Regions from separate parts of the Homo sapiens genome. Here region 2 is linked to region 1. The links are contacts of gene promoters, found by promoter capture Hi-C in human tissues and cell types (Jung and others, 2019). All regions are on one chromosome and are shown on one strand. The core of a region is centred on a gene start or on the middle of the fragment in contact, and the rest is flanking DNA. Distances in the headings are between cores, read along the strand shown. Region 1 holds the start of HPS1 (HPS1 biogenesis of lysosomal organelles complex 3 subunit 1). Region 2 has its middle 24 kb from the start of SFRP5.

The links. The method cuts DNA at HindIII sites, captures the fragments that hold promoters and counts their contacts. A contact is called where the count stands out against the background at its distance.
Region 2: a contact is called between a fragment that was not itself captured here and the fragment with the promoter of HPS1 in region 1, in 1 of the 25 tissues and cell types used here (bladder).

The regions. Positions count from the first base shown.
Region 1 is chr10:98,443,858-98,449,310 of GRCh38, reverse strand. HPS1 (HPS1 biogenesis of lysosomal organelles complex 3 subunit 1) reads left to right here and starts at 2,376. Exons shown (of 20, transcript NM_000195.5): 1 at 2,376-2,504; 2 at 3,907-4,011. It overlaps HPS1-AS1 (HPS1 antisense RNA 1), which reads right to left and starts at 2,990. Exons shown (of 3, transcript NR_134454.1): 1 at 2,554-2,990. RefSeq lists a silencer at 2,209-2,558. The HindIII fragment of the contact is 14,922 bases long and covers 1-5,453 here.
Region 2 is chr10:97,793,246-97,798,698 of GRCh38, reverse strand. No RefSeq gene overlaps it. Among named protein-coding and RNA genes, the nearest start is that of SFRP5, 24 kb to the right of the region's middle. The HindIII fragment of the contact is 5,525 bases long and covers 1-5,266 here.

The DNA.
Region 1 (5,453 bases), core at 1,127-3,626:
ACCCATTAGGATGGCTACTATAAAAATTTTAAAGAAAATAGAAAATAGCAAGTGTTGACAAAGATGTGGGTAAACTGGAACACTTGTTCCAGGTTGGGAATGTAAAATGATGCAGCTGCTGTGGAAAACAGTATGGTAGTTCCTTAAAAAATTAAAAATAGAATTACCATATGATCTAGCAGTTTCTCTTCTGGGTATATGCCCAAAAGAATTGAAAGCAGAGTCTCAAAGAGATATTTGTACACTCATGTTCATAATGGCCTTATTCACAATGGATGTAACCCAATTGTCCATCAGCAGATAAATGGATAAGCAAAATGTAGTATATACAGACTATAGAGTATTATTTAGGCTTAAAAATAAAGAAAAAAGGAAGGAATTCTCACATATGCTACAACATGAATGCACCTTGAGAATATTATGCTAAGTGAAATAAGCCAGTCATAAAAAGACAAATACTGTATGATTCTACTTATATGAGGTACTTAGAGTAGTCAAATTCATAGAGACAGAAAGTAACATTGTGGTTGCTATGAGGAGGAATGAAGAATTGTTGTTGTTGTTGTTTTTGTTGTTGTTTTTGAGATGGGAGTCTCGCTCCGTTGCCCAGGCTGGAGTGCAGTGGCATGATCTTGGCTCACTGCAACCTCTGCCTCCTTGGTACCAGCAATTCTCCTGACTCAGCCTCCTGAGTCACTGGGACTACAGCTGTGTGCCACCACACCCTGCTAATTTTGTATTTTTAGTAGAGACAGGGTTTCACCATGTTGGCTAGGGTGACCTCAAACTCCTGACTTTGTGATCCGCCCGCCTTGACCTCCCAAAGTGTTGGGATTACAGGTGTGAGCCACCACACCCGGCCAGCATTATTGCTTAATGGATATAGTTTCAGTTTTAAAAGATGAAAAGAGCTGTGGAGATGGATGGTGGTGATGGCTGCATAGCATTAGGAATGTAGTTAATACCACTGAACAATACACTTAAAATGCTTAATGATCAATTTTACATTATATGTATTTTACCACAAACAAATTTGAAAAAAAGAAACATGTTGACACAAAAAACCCGTACATAACTAAAAAATAGATTATATTGGATTACATAAAAATGTAAAACTTTGGTGCTACAAATGATACCACTAAGAAAGTGAAAAGACAAGCCACATAATGGGAAAAAAACTTTTGCAAATCAAGTATCTGATAAGGGGCTTGTAACCAGAGCATATAAAGAACTCTTACAACTCAATAATAAAGACAATTTAAAAATGGATAAAGGATTTGAATAGACATTTCTCCAGAGAAGGTACACAAATAGGCAAAAAGCACATGAAAAGATGCCGAACGTCAGGGAAGTGCAAATAAAATCACAAGACACCACTCCACGCTGGGTTACTATACTTAAAAAAAAAAAAATCAACAATAACAAGCATTGGTGAGGATGTGGAGAAATCAGAATCCTCATACATTGCAGTTGGGAAATGGAAATTACCAGTAGGGGAATGAATAAGTAAATAACAGCATATCCATTTGATGGAATTCATTCGACCACTGAAAGCATAGTGAGTGAACGATCTCAACGGTGGGCTGAGCAAAGAGATGCGTGTGGCAGGGCTATGTGCTGTAGATGGGGAGTTGGAAGAATTTGCCCTAAGGTGGGCTGGAAGGGGTGGGTAGTGGGTTGGGGGGAGTGATGCTCTCTTTGATCTGCAGGTGGTGGAAGTATTGATTCTTAGCCTCTGCCTTTCCCCCAAGAGATGCTCAATCTACTATATCCCCAGCCAGTTCTTGCAACCCATACCTTGCTGGGCTGGGCTCAAAGCTCCCAGGTGGCACCCAGGCACTGAGGGGTGGACTGTTCGGGGATTTAGGCCCTTCCAGAGCGCCCCCTCCACTTCCAGGCACCCCCAATACACATACGATTTTTTAAAATAAATATTGCAAACATAGGTTCAACACAAAACTCCTAATGTGCACTCCACTCCCAAAATAGATTGAGAACTCCTATAAATTCCAGCGTTGGCACTCTGGGGGCAACTGAGCCCTTCTGTGCGCTATGTCACCTCCCCAAAGGTCAGGGAGAGCAGTCACAAAAGGACAGCTCTAGCCCCAGAACTTCAGTTCATTAGGCAAAGCCTGAGGTTCCGGGGCATGGGGAGGAGAGAAGGGATCAGCTGAGGAGCCAGGAAACCTGGGTTCTGAGCCTGGTTCGGACCCTCAGCAAGTTATTTCTTCTCTCTGCGCCTCCGTTTCCTCTTCTGTAAAATGGGGCATGGGCAAGGCCTGGCAGGGGCGGGGCTCGAACCCGCGGAAGGCGACGGCGGCTCCGGCCCCTCCCGGGGCGGGCGGTCACGTGCGCGATCACGCGGTCCTACCCGGAAGCGCGCCCGGGCTCCTGCAGGCGGGGCGCTGTGCGCGCCGCGATCCGGTACGTGGGCCTCCGGGCTGTCCCCTCTGGGGGCGGCGATCCTCCCTCCGGAGCCCCCCTTCAACCCTCCCGGAAGTGAGGTAGGGTCCCTAGGGGTCCCGGAGCGGGCCCACTCCTAGCCTCACCCACTCCGGGCGTGTGGCCGTGGGCCGGTCGCTTCCTCGCTCGGGGCCAAAGTTCCTCAGCCGTGAAGAGGGGTGGATGTCACAAGTCAAGCCTCCTTCCCAGGGTGGCCGTGAGGTTCGGGGGTGGGGGGAGGTGGGGATTTGGGGTGAAACTGGACAGAAACTGGCGTGCTAGGCAAACGGGAGCCCCGCGGCGGCGAACTGCTGACTCGCTCTCTCCAGAGACTCAGGGGCAGGGCCGGGCTCCGAAGGTGTGGGACCCCAGAAGGAGCTGCTGAAGACGGGACCAAGGGCCACAGGGAGGTTTGCTGGGGTCCAGATGGTGAAAGTGGGCGCTGGGGGTCGCCCCAGGTTGGCCCCCCGCCATCTGGAGCTCCTTTCGTCAGTGAGTCCCCTCCGAGTTCCCTTTCTAGGGCAAGATAGCGAGGTGAAGCGGAAGTCTCAGTGTGACACCGGCGAGGTTCTCTTCCCAGCAGCCTTTGGGAAGCATCCCCCTGTTTCGGGAATATGGCATTCGGGCCAATCATGTGGGTGATGGAGCCCGTCTCAGGGTTCGGCTGCTAAAGGCCGAACTCGTAACAGCAGTCTCTGTGGCGGGTAGTCACTTGCCTCTTACTGGCTCACAGTGCTTGACTTCCTAATTAAGTTTTCTGTTGTTCCTGCCCTCTATTCAAATATGAATGATTCCGGAACCAGATTGATTAATCCTGTTATTTGAAGAAGGGAAGCTGGGAAATAGGAATAATGATCCCCACACCTATGTAAGAACGCAGTTTGCTAAGGTTACTTTGCAGCTTGCCTGGTCACTCCCATGATCTAACCCTGTAGGGAGGTAGAGTAGGGGATGTTGCTCTGTTTCTCCGCAGGAGTTTGAGGCTCAGAGAGGTTTATGGGACTTGGCAAAGCCAAAACTAGAACCTGGTCCCAGATGCCTTTCCTGTTAGTTTCCTTCCATTCATCGTATCATCCCAGGATCCCCACTCCCTTCACCGGGACTGCATCCTCACCACCTGGGATGTGCTATGCTGTCTCCCGTCAGTCACTCCTAGCAAGCTCCCTGGGGCTGCTTGGGGAGCTCTGAGTGACCCGCAGAAGTGAGAGCACTTCATGGGAACAAAGGAGGAAGGAACAAAAGTGGGCACCTGCTCTGTGCAAAGGGCTGTGCTGGCCGGGTTCCTATTCTCCATTATGGGAGGTGAGGGGCAGGATCCCAGATATGTTCTTAGCAGACTGCCTCAGGGCCTGGAGAGACCAGGGACCACGCAGCCCTTCTCCAGCTTGTCCTTTCTCAACGGGCAGCAGTCAAGACCAGGGCATCTGCCTGCCCTCATATTCTCTCTGTTTTAAGCATTTGCAGGACCAGGGATGCTGTGCTGCTCTCCCATGAGCCAGTCACCGAGTCGGTCTGCTGCAGCCCTTTCTGAACCTCTGGCCGTCTGGATGCTCCACTGTGCTTGCCAAGGTAGATGATCTTGCCCCACCTGGGGAGGACAGGGAGGCAGGCAGCATCCACCCTGGGGCTTTGGGAGGCAGATGGAATGAGGTAGGCAGTGGACTGAGTGCTACTGGGCTCTGCACACCTGCTCATCCCCTCCCCAGCCCTGCATCCTGAGGCCACCCCCATCCTGATGCCTCATCTCTCCTTCACCCCTCGAATCCAGGCAGGTCATCACAGCCTGCTGCATCTTTAAAGCTCCTCCCAGCCCCCACCAAGGGGTGAGCACTCATTACCTGACACCCGCACCTAGATGACCGCCTTCATGACCTTGACCTGCCCATCTCCAGCCAGCCGGTCACTTCTCCGCTCACAACCACAGCCTCCATTCCATAGCCCACTGCTCCCTAACCCATACACTCTGGTCAGCTTTGTCACATGTACCTGGGAGTCCCAGAGCAGCCTCTTCAGGTCCACCCGCCTCTCCCAGCAACCTCCTTTTCACACCTGTTGCACTCTCAGTGTCTGCCTTGGCATTGAGTAATTCTGTGGGAATAGGCTGCATTCCTTCTTCACTGTGCTGTTATGTCTCCTGGCATTTGCCATAAATACCTTGGGACCAGTTGCACCAAGTTAGTTTGGGAGGAATTCAGTAAGGACCACTAAGCTGGACATGGGGATGACGGAACACAAGACCTGGAGATGCTGTGATCCTCCCAAGAAAACTGGAAATCCACTTGTGTGAGAGTTACAGCAGAGCTTCCTAATCATTGTCATGGCTTAGCGCACATACCACATGATTATATCTGCGTGACACCCTGAGGCACATAAGAGGATTTGAAACCACTGCCTGAGGCCTCTTAGCTGCAGCAGCCAGCCTGGAGCACTGTCCTCACCAGCCTGGTCAGGCTGCCCCAAGTTTTAGAAGATCGAGGGTTTGCCGCACGCAGAGGGCCATGGCACACAGTGTGGGAAGCTGTATTAAAGATCTTCCAGTGGGTGAATAGTTAAGACATTTCTTACATAATCAAGCACAGAGTGTGTGGTGTGTGTGTGTGTGGCGGGGGGGTGGGGAAGGAGATTTGGGAGGGCTGAAGACACTGGTGGCTGTGGCCCTAGAAGCTGCAGCCTACTAGGTACAGGGGCTTTAGGCAGCCTCTGTTCTCACCATGAACAGGGAGAGCAGCATTTGAATGAAACTTCTGTGGTGCTGAAGTAAATTCAGGGGCTTTGAGGCTCATCTTCTGGAGCTGTTTTTTGTTTGTTTGTTTGTTTGTTTGTTTGTTTTTTCAGACAGAGTCTCGCTCTGTCACCCAGGCTGGAGTGCAGTGGTGTAATCTCGGCTCACTGCAACCTCTGCCTCCCGGGTTCAAGCAATTCTCCTGCCTCAGCAGTTATCCCGAGTAGCTGGGATAACAGGCACTTGCCACCATGCCTGGCTAATTTTTGTATTTTTAGTAGAGACGGGG
Region 2 (5,453 bases), core at 1,255-3,754, 650 kb after region 1:
AAATTATCTAGAATGCAGCACAGAGAGATTAAGAATGAAAAATATAGATGCAATTATAAGAGACCTAGAAGACAGAGTTAGAAGACTTAGCACACTTTTAAGAGAAGTCTCAGGAGAGAAGAAAAAACATGCAGCAGAGCATTCCTTACTCTATCCTATGGGTTCCTTGATGATAGTGAGGTGTTTTTTTCCTTAAGTAAGTAGAACACTGGTCACAGCCCTGGTAGAGAAAGCCTAAACTTTTCCTTCTTTGTCAAATCCCTCTCCTAATTTTCAACCTGCAAAAGTCTGGGCAGAGGAAGACCTCATTAGCCTCTGGCTGAAGCCTGAGATGGCAGAGTTTTGTAAGACACAGGAAGGGGCATGGGGGTTGGTACTCTGTTACCTTGGGCAGTAGAGAGGAGTATATGCAAGGACCGGGATAGGAAACCAGATGGGAAAGGTGCAAAGAGGTACCTATGGGAGGGGTCTGAGGAAGCCTGGGAGAACAGAATTCAGATCTAAGAGAGATCCTAAGAGCCTCTGAAGGTTTCAAGTGCACTTAACTGTTTCTCCCCAGAGTGTCTGATTTCCTGTGGCCCAGTCACCCTGACCCTCAGTTGGAATCCCACCACCCTTCCAGGTGGTTCCAGTGGAATGAAACTAAAGCAGCTCTAGACTGCATCTCCCTCACTCATGGCCTCATCTGGTCCACAGAGAACATGCACACCTCCTTTGCTTCACCATCCATAGAAGAGGAGCTGGCTCCCAACACAGGTTTTTTTTCACTTGCTGTCTTTGCTACACCTTTTCAGGCTGAAAGCCAAAGCCCTTCCCATTAGACTCCTTGGGTTCATGTCATGATCCTTGAGCCTCCCAAACTCCAAGAGACACACCCTAGGCTCCTCCAAGGGGTTTCCTTGTAGCCCATCTTATCAGGCTTGAGGGGAGGGGTAACCTCCCTCCCTCACAGGTTGGCACTAAGGGGTTGGGACTCACAGCATAGCCTTCTACAAAGAAATTCTCTCAAATTTCTCCCAAATCTCCAGATCCTGACCCCGTTTTGCCATCTCCCCAGTTCTCAACCACAGTGTGCTGCCCACAGCTCCTTCTGCATGTGGCACCTTTGTCTTCGTGCCTCAGTCAATACTGGAAGAGAAAGAGTCCTGACTTAATATCTCATTCTATGTGTCACTGCAAGTAAATAGAGAAAAAAATCAAGAAAGAGATGGATACTGCACAGTGCTAACAATAATAATCACCAGAAGTTGAGATTATTGGTGAGTTTTATTTTACTTTATGTAGTTTTCAGATTTTCTAAAATGCATTTTATAAGCAGAAAAATTAAATTTTATCTTTAAAAAAGATGTAGGCTGAGCATAGCACTTTGGGATGCCAAGGCAGGAGGATCGCTTGAGGCCAGGAGTTTAAGACCAGCCTGGACAACACAATGAGACCCCCGTCTCCACAAAAGTAAATAAATAAATTATCTGGGCATGATGGTGTGTGCCTGTAGTCCCAGCTATTTGGGAGGCTGAGGTAGGGGGATCACTTGAGCCCAGGAGTTCAAGGTTGCAGTGAGCTACATCACACCACTGCACTCCAGCCTGGGCAACAGAATAAGATCCTGTCTCAAAAAAAAAAAAAATGTGGTTGCCGAAGCAAACATTATTGGTTACCCACCCAACAGCCATTTCCTGACTCCATCCTCACTAAATAGCCCTTGCAAGAATTTTTTTCATGTATTAGGTTGTCAGAACTTCAGAGAAGGCTGGACTCTCCTTGTCCCAGGACTGATACTTGGTCACTCATGGTAACGTCTTTCCCCTTGCCAGCAACTGGCTTAGGAAGGAGCATGTGACTTGATTCTGTCCGATGAGACATGACAGGAAGTCAGCTGGGGAGACTTCTAGGAAATGCTTTCTTGCTCTTAAAAAAAGACACAGAGGATAGGTAAACTGTGGCCAATCAATGCAATCTTGTTATTCAACAAGAAAAAAAAAACGAGCTACCAAGTCATGAAAAGACATAGAGGAAGCTTAAATGTGTATTACTAAGTAAAATAAGCCAGTCTGAAAAGGCTATGTACTATATGACATTCTGGAAAAGGAAAAATGGTGAAGACAGTAAAAAGATCAGTGTTGTCAGGGGTTAGTGGAGAGAGAGGGGTGAATAGGTGGAGCACAGAGGATTTTTAAGACAATGAAACTATTCTGTATGATACTATAATGGTGGATGCGTGTCATTAGACATTTATCCAAACCCATAGAATGTACAACACCAAGAGCAAACCGTAATGAAAACCATGGACTTTGGGAGATGATGGTGTGCCCATGTAAGCTCATCAGTTGTAACACACGTACCACTCTGGTGAGCGGTATGGATAATGGGGGAGGCTGTGCATGTTGGGAGGGCAGCGGGTATATGGGGAATCTCTCTACCTTCCTCTCAATGTTGCTGTGAACCGAAAACTGCTCTAAAAAAATTAAGCCTATTAAAAATAAAAAGTTAAAAAGGGACATGAGAAAAGAAACAGTTCTCTTCTGCCCATTAACAAGGTCCTGTGAGATGGGATGCAGCATCCAGGGACGCACTGAGTATGGAAAGAACACCTGGATTGCTGGCAGGGGGCGCTGAGAGCAGGGCGCTGGGAGTGGGCCCTCCCAGGTGCAGGCAATATGGGAGTGTGCTGGTAGACAATTGGAAACATCAGTAAAACAAACCAAGGGGCCATCTACATGCTATTCTCACCAAGCAATTCCTTTAAGGTATATCAGTGATAAAATACCCTTCCCTAAAAAATCCTTCATTGGTCTAAGTTCTAAACAAGTGACGTGGTTATACTGCTGGGCTTTCATACAAGTTAACTTCCAATTAGCACACTTTCGTGATTTATTCTTTCATAAGCATCATATTCTACATGACAGTTAATTTAGAAAGCTCTCGGTTATTCGGGCAGCCTTAGACACACGCTGACTTAGCTATGCTTGTGATATATTTTTAATTAGTAAACTTCATTTTTAGAGCAGTTTTAGATTTATAGAAAAATTGAGTGCGGGTAGTTTCCCTTAATATTAACATCTTACACTACAGTGGTACATTTGTTACAATTGGTGAACCAATACTGATACACTGTTGTTAATGAAAATCCATAGTTTACATTAGAGTTCACTAATGACCAGCAAAAGCTTTGTACATTCTATGGGTTTTGACCATGTAATGATATTACTCGTCATTATAGTATCACACAGAATAGTTTCACTGTCTTAAAAATCGTCTGCCATCCACCTATTCATCCCTCCCTCCCCCAGCTCCTGGCAACCACTGATCTTTTTGCTGTCTCCATAGCTTTGCCTTTTCCAGAATGTCATGCACTGTAGTTGGAACCACACAGCATACGGCCTTTTCAGATGGGCTTTTCCCCTTAGTACCATGCATCTGAGGTTCGTCAGTATCTTTTCATAGTTTGACAGTGTATCTTATCTCTTTTGCTCACTGAATAACACTCCATTGCATGGATGTACCACAATTTACCATTTACTTATTGAAGGGCACCTTGCTTGTTTCCCACCTGTGTATTTGTAGGGTAAGTTCCTAACAGTTGAGAATCATTCAAGCTGGGCCGGGCATGGTGGCTCACGCCTGTAATCTGAGCACTATGGGAGGCTGAGGTGAGTGGATCACCTGAAGTCAAGAGTTCGAGACCAGCCTGGCCAACATGGTGAAACCCCATCTCTACTAAAAATACCAAAAAAATTAGCCAGGCATGGTCTACAGACTACAGACTACACCTGTAGTCCCAGCTACTCAGGGAGGGTGAGGCAGGAGAATCGCTTGAACCTGGGAGGCGGAGGTTGCATTGAGCGGAGATCGCACCACTGCACTCCAGCCTAGGTGACGGAGGGAGACTCCATCTCAAAAAAAAAAAAAAGAATCATTCCAGCTGGCTTCAAGTGCAGTTTGTGTCCCCAAATCATACAGTACTACACATTCCTGCATTTAAAGGGTATTTTATTTATTTAGTTCATTTTTTATTATTTTTATTTTATTTTATTCAAAATAAAAAATTATAGTCTATTGAGTATGAAAAAAAACAGAATTTGAGTTTCTTCAATTCTGTCATTCTATGGCACCACTCTATGGAGGTTTGTTTTGTGTTTAAAATGGATAACCATGATGTTAAGTATGAATGCTTTTGTCTGGTAAATACAACATTTGTTTATACACAAAACATTTTACTGAATTTGAACAGTATGTTTAAAGTTGACATTTTCTTTGTGTTTATTTGTTTCAAAATGAAAGAACAAGTTGTTTAAAAATAATTATTACTGATTATTACATGGTTATTAGTGAAAATAATTTTTGTCATACTGATAATTCTAAAATAGCCTCCAGGATTCCTACCCTGACTATGCATGGCCTGTATGATCTCTTCTTCCTTAGTCTGGGTGGGACCAGCAAATATGGAATGTTATAATCAGTTGACTTTAAGTTAATAGAAAGTGAGATGATCCTGGGTAGGCCTGACCTAATCAGGTGAGCCTTTTTAAAGATGGTGACACCTCAGAGAGAGCTCTCCAGCTGGCTTTGAAGACACAGTCTTCAAGAAGAAGATGCAGGCCTTGGTGCAGTGGCTCACGCCTGTGATCCCAGCACTGTGGGAGGCCAAGGTGGGAGGATCACTTGAGCCCAGGAGTTCGAGAACAGCCTGGGCAACATAGCAAGACCTCATCTCTTAAAAAAAAAAAAAAGAAGAAGAAGAAGAAGAGGAAGAAGAAATAAAGAAAAAGAGAGAGGAAGGAAGGAAAGAAGGAAGGAAGGAAGGAAAGGAAGAGAGGAAGGAAGGATCTTAAAGAGGTTGGGCTGGGCGTGGTGGCTCACACCTATAATCCCAGCACTTTGGGAGGCCAAGGCAGGAGGATTGCTTGAGCTCAGGATTTCGAGACTTCATCTTTATATGAAATAAAAGAAAGGGAAGGAAGGATGGGAGGAAGAAAGGGAAGAAGGAAGAGAGGAAGAAAGGGGAAGAAGGAAGGGAGGGAGGGAGGAAGGGAGGCAAGAAGCAGTTCTACATCTGCAAGGAAATTAATTCTGCCAAAACCTAGGAAGTTTGGAAGAAGCTCCCAAGTCTCAGATGACCCTACCCTGGCTGACATGTTGGGTTTTGTTTCGTTTGAGATGGAATCTCACTCTGTTACCCAGGTTGGAGTGCAGTGGTGCGATTTCATCTCACTGCAACCTCTGCCTCCTGGGTTTAAGCAATTCTCCTGCCTGTCTCCCAAGTAGCTGGGACTAAAGGTGCATGCCACCACACCTGGCTAACTTTTGTATTTTTAGTACAGATGAGGTTTCACCATGTTGGCCAGGCTGGTCTCAAACTCCTGACCTCAAGTGATCCACCCACCTTGGCCTTCCAAACTGTTGGGATTACAGGCGTGAGCCACCGTGCCTGGACCTGGCTGACACTTTGACTG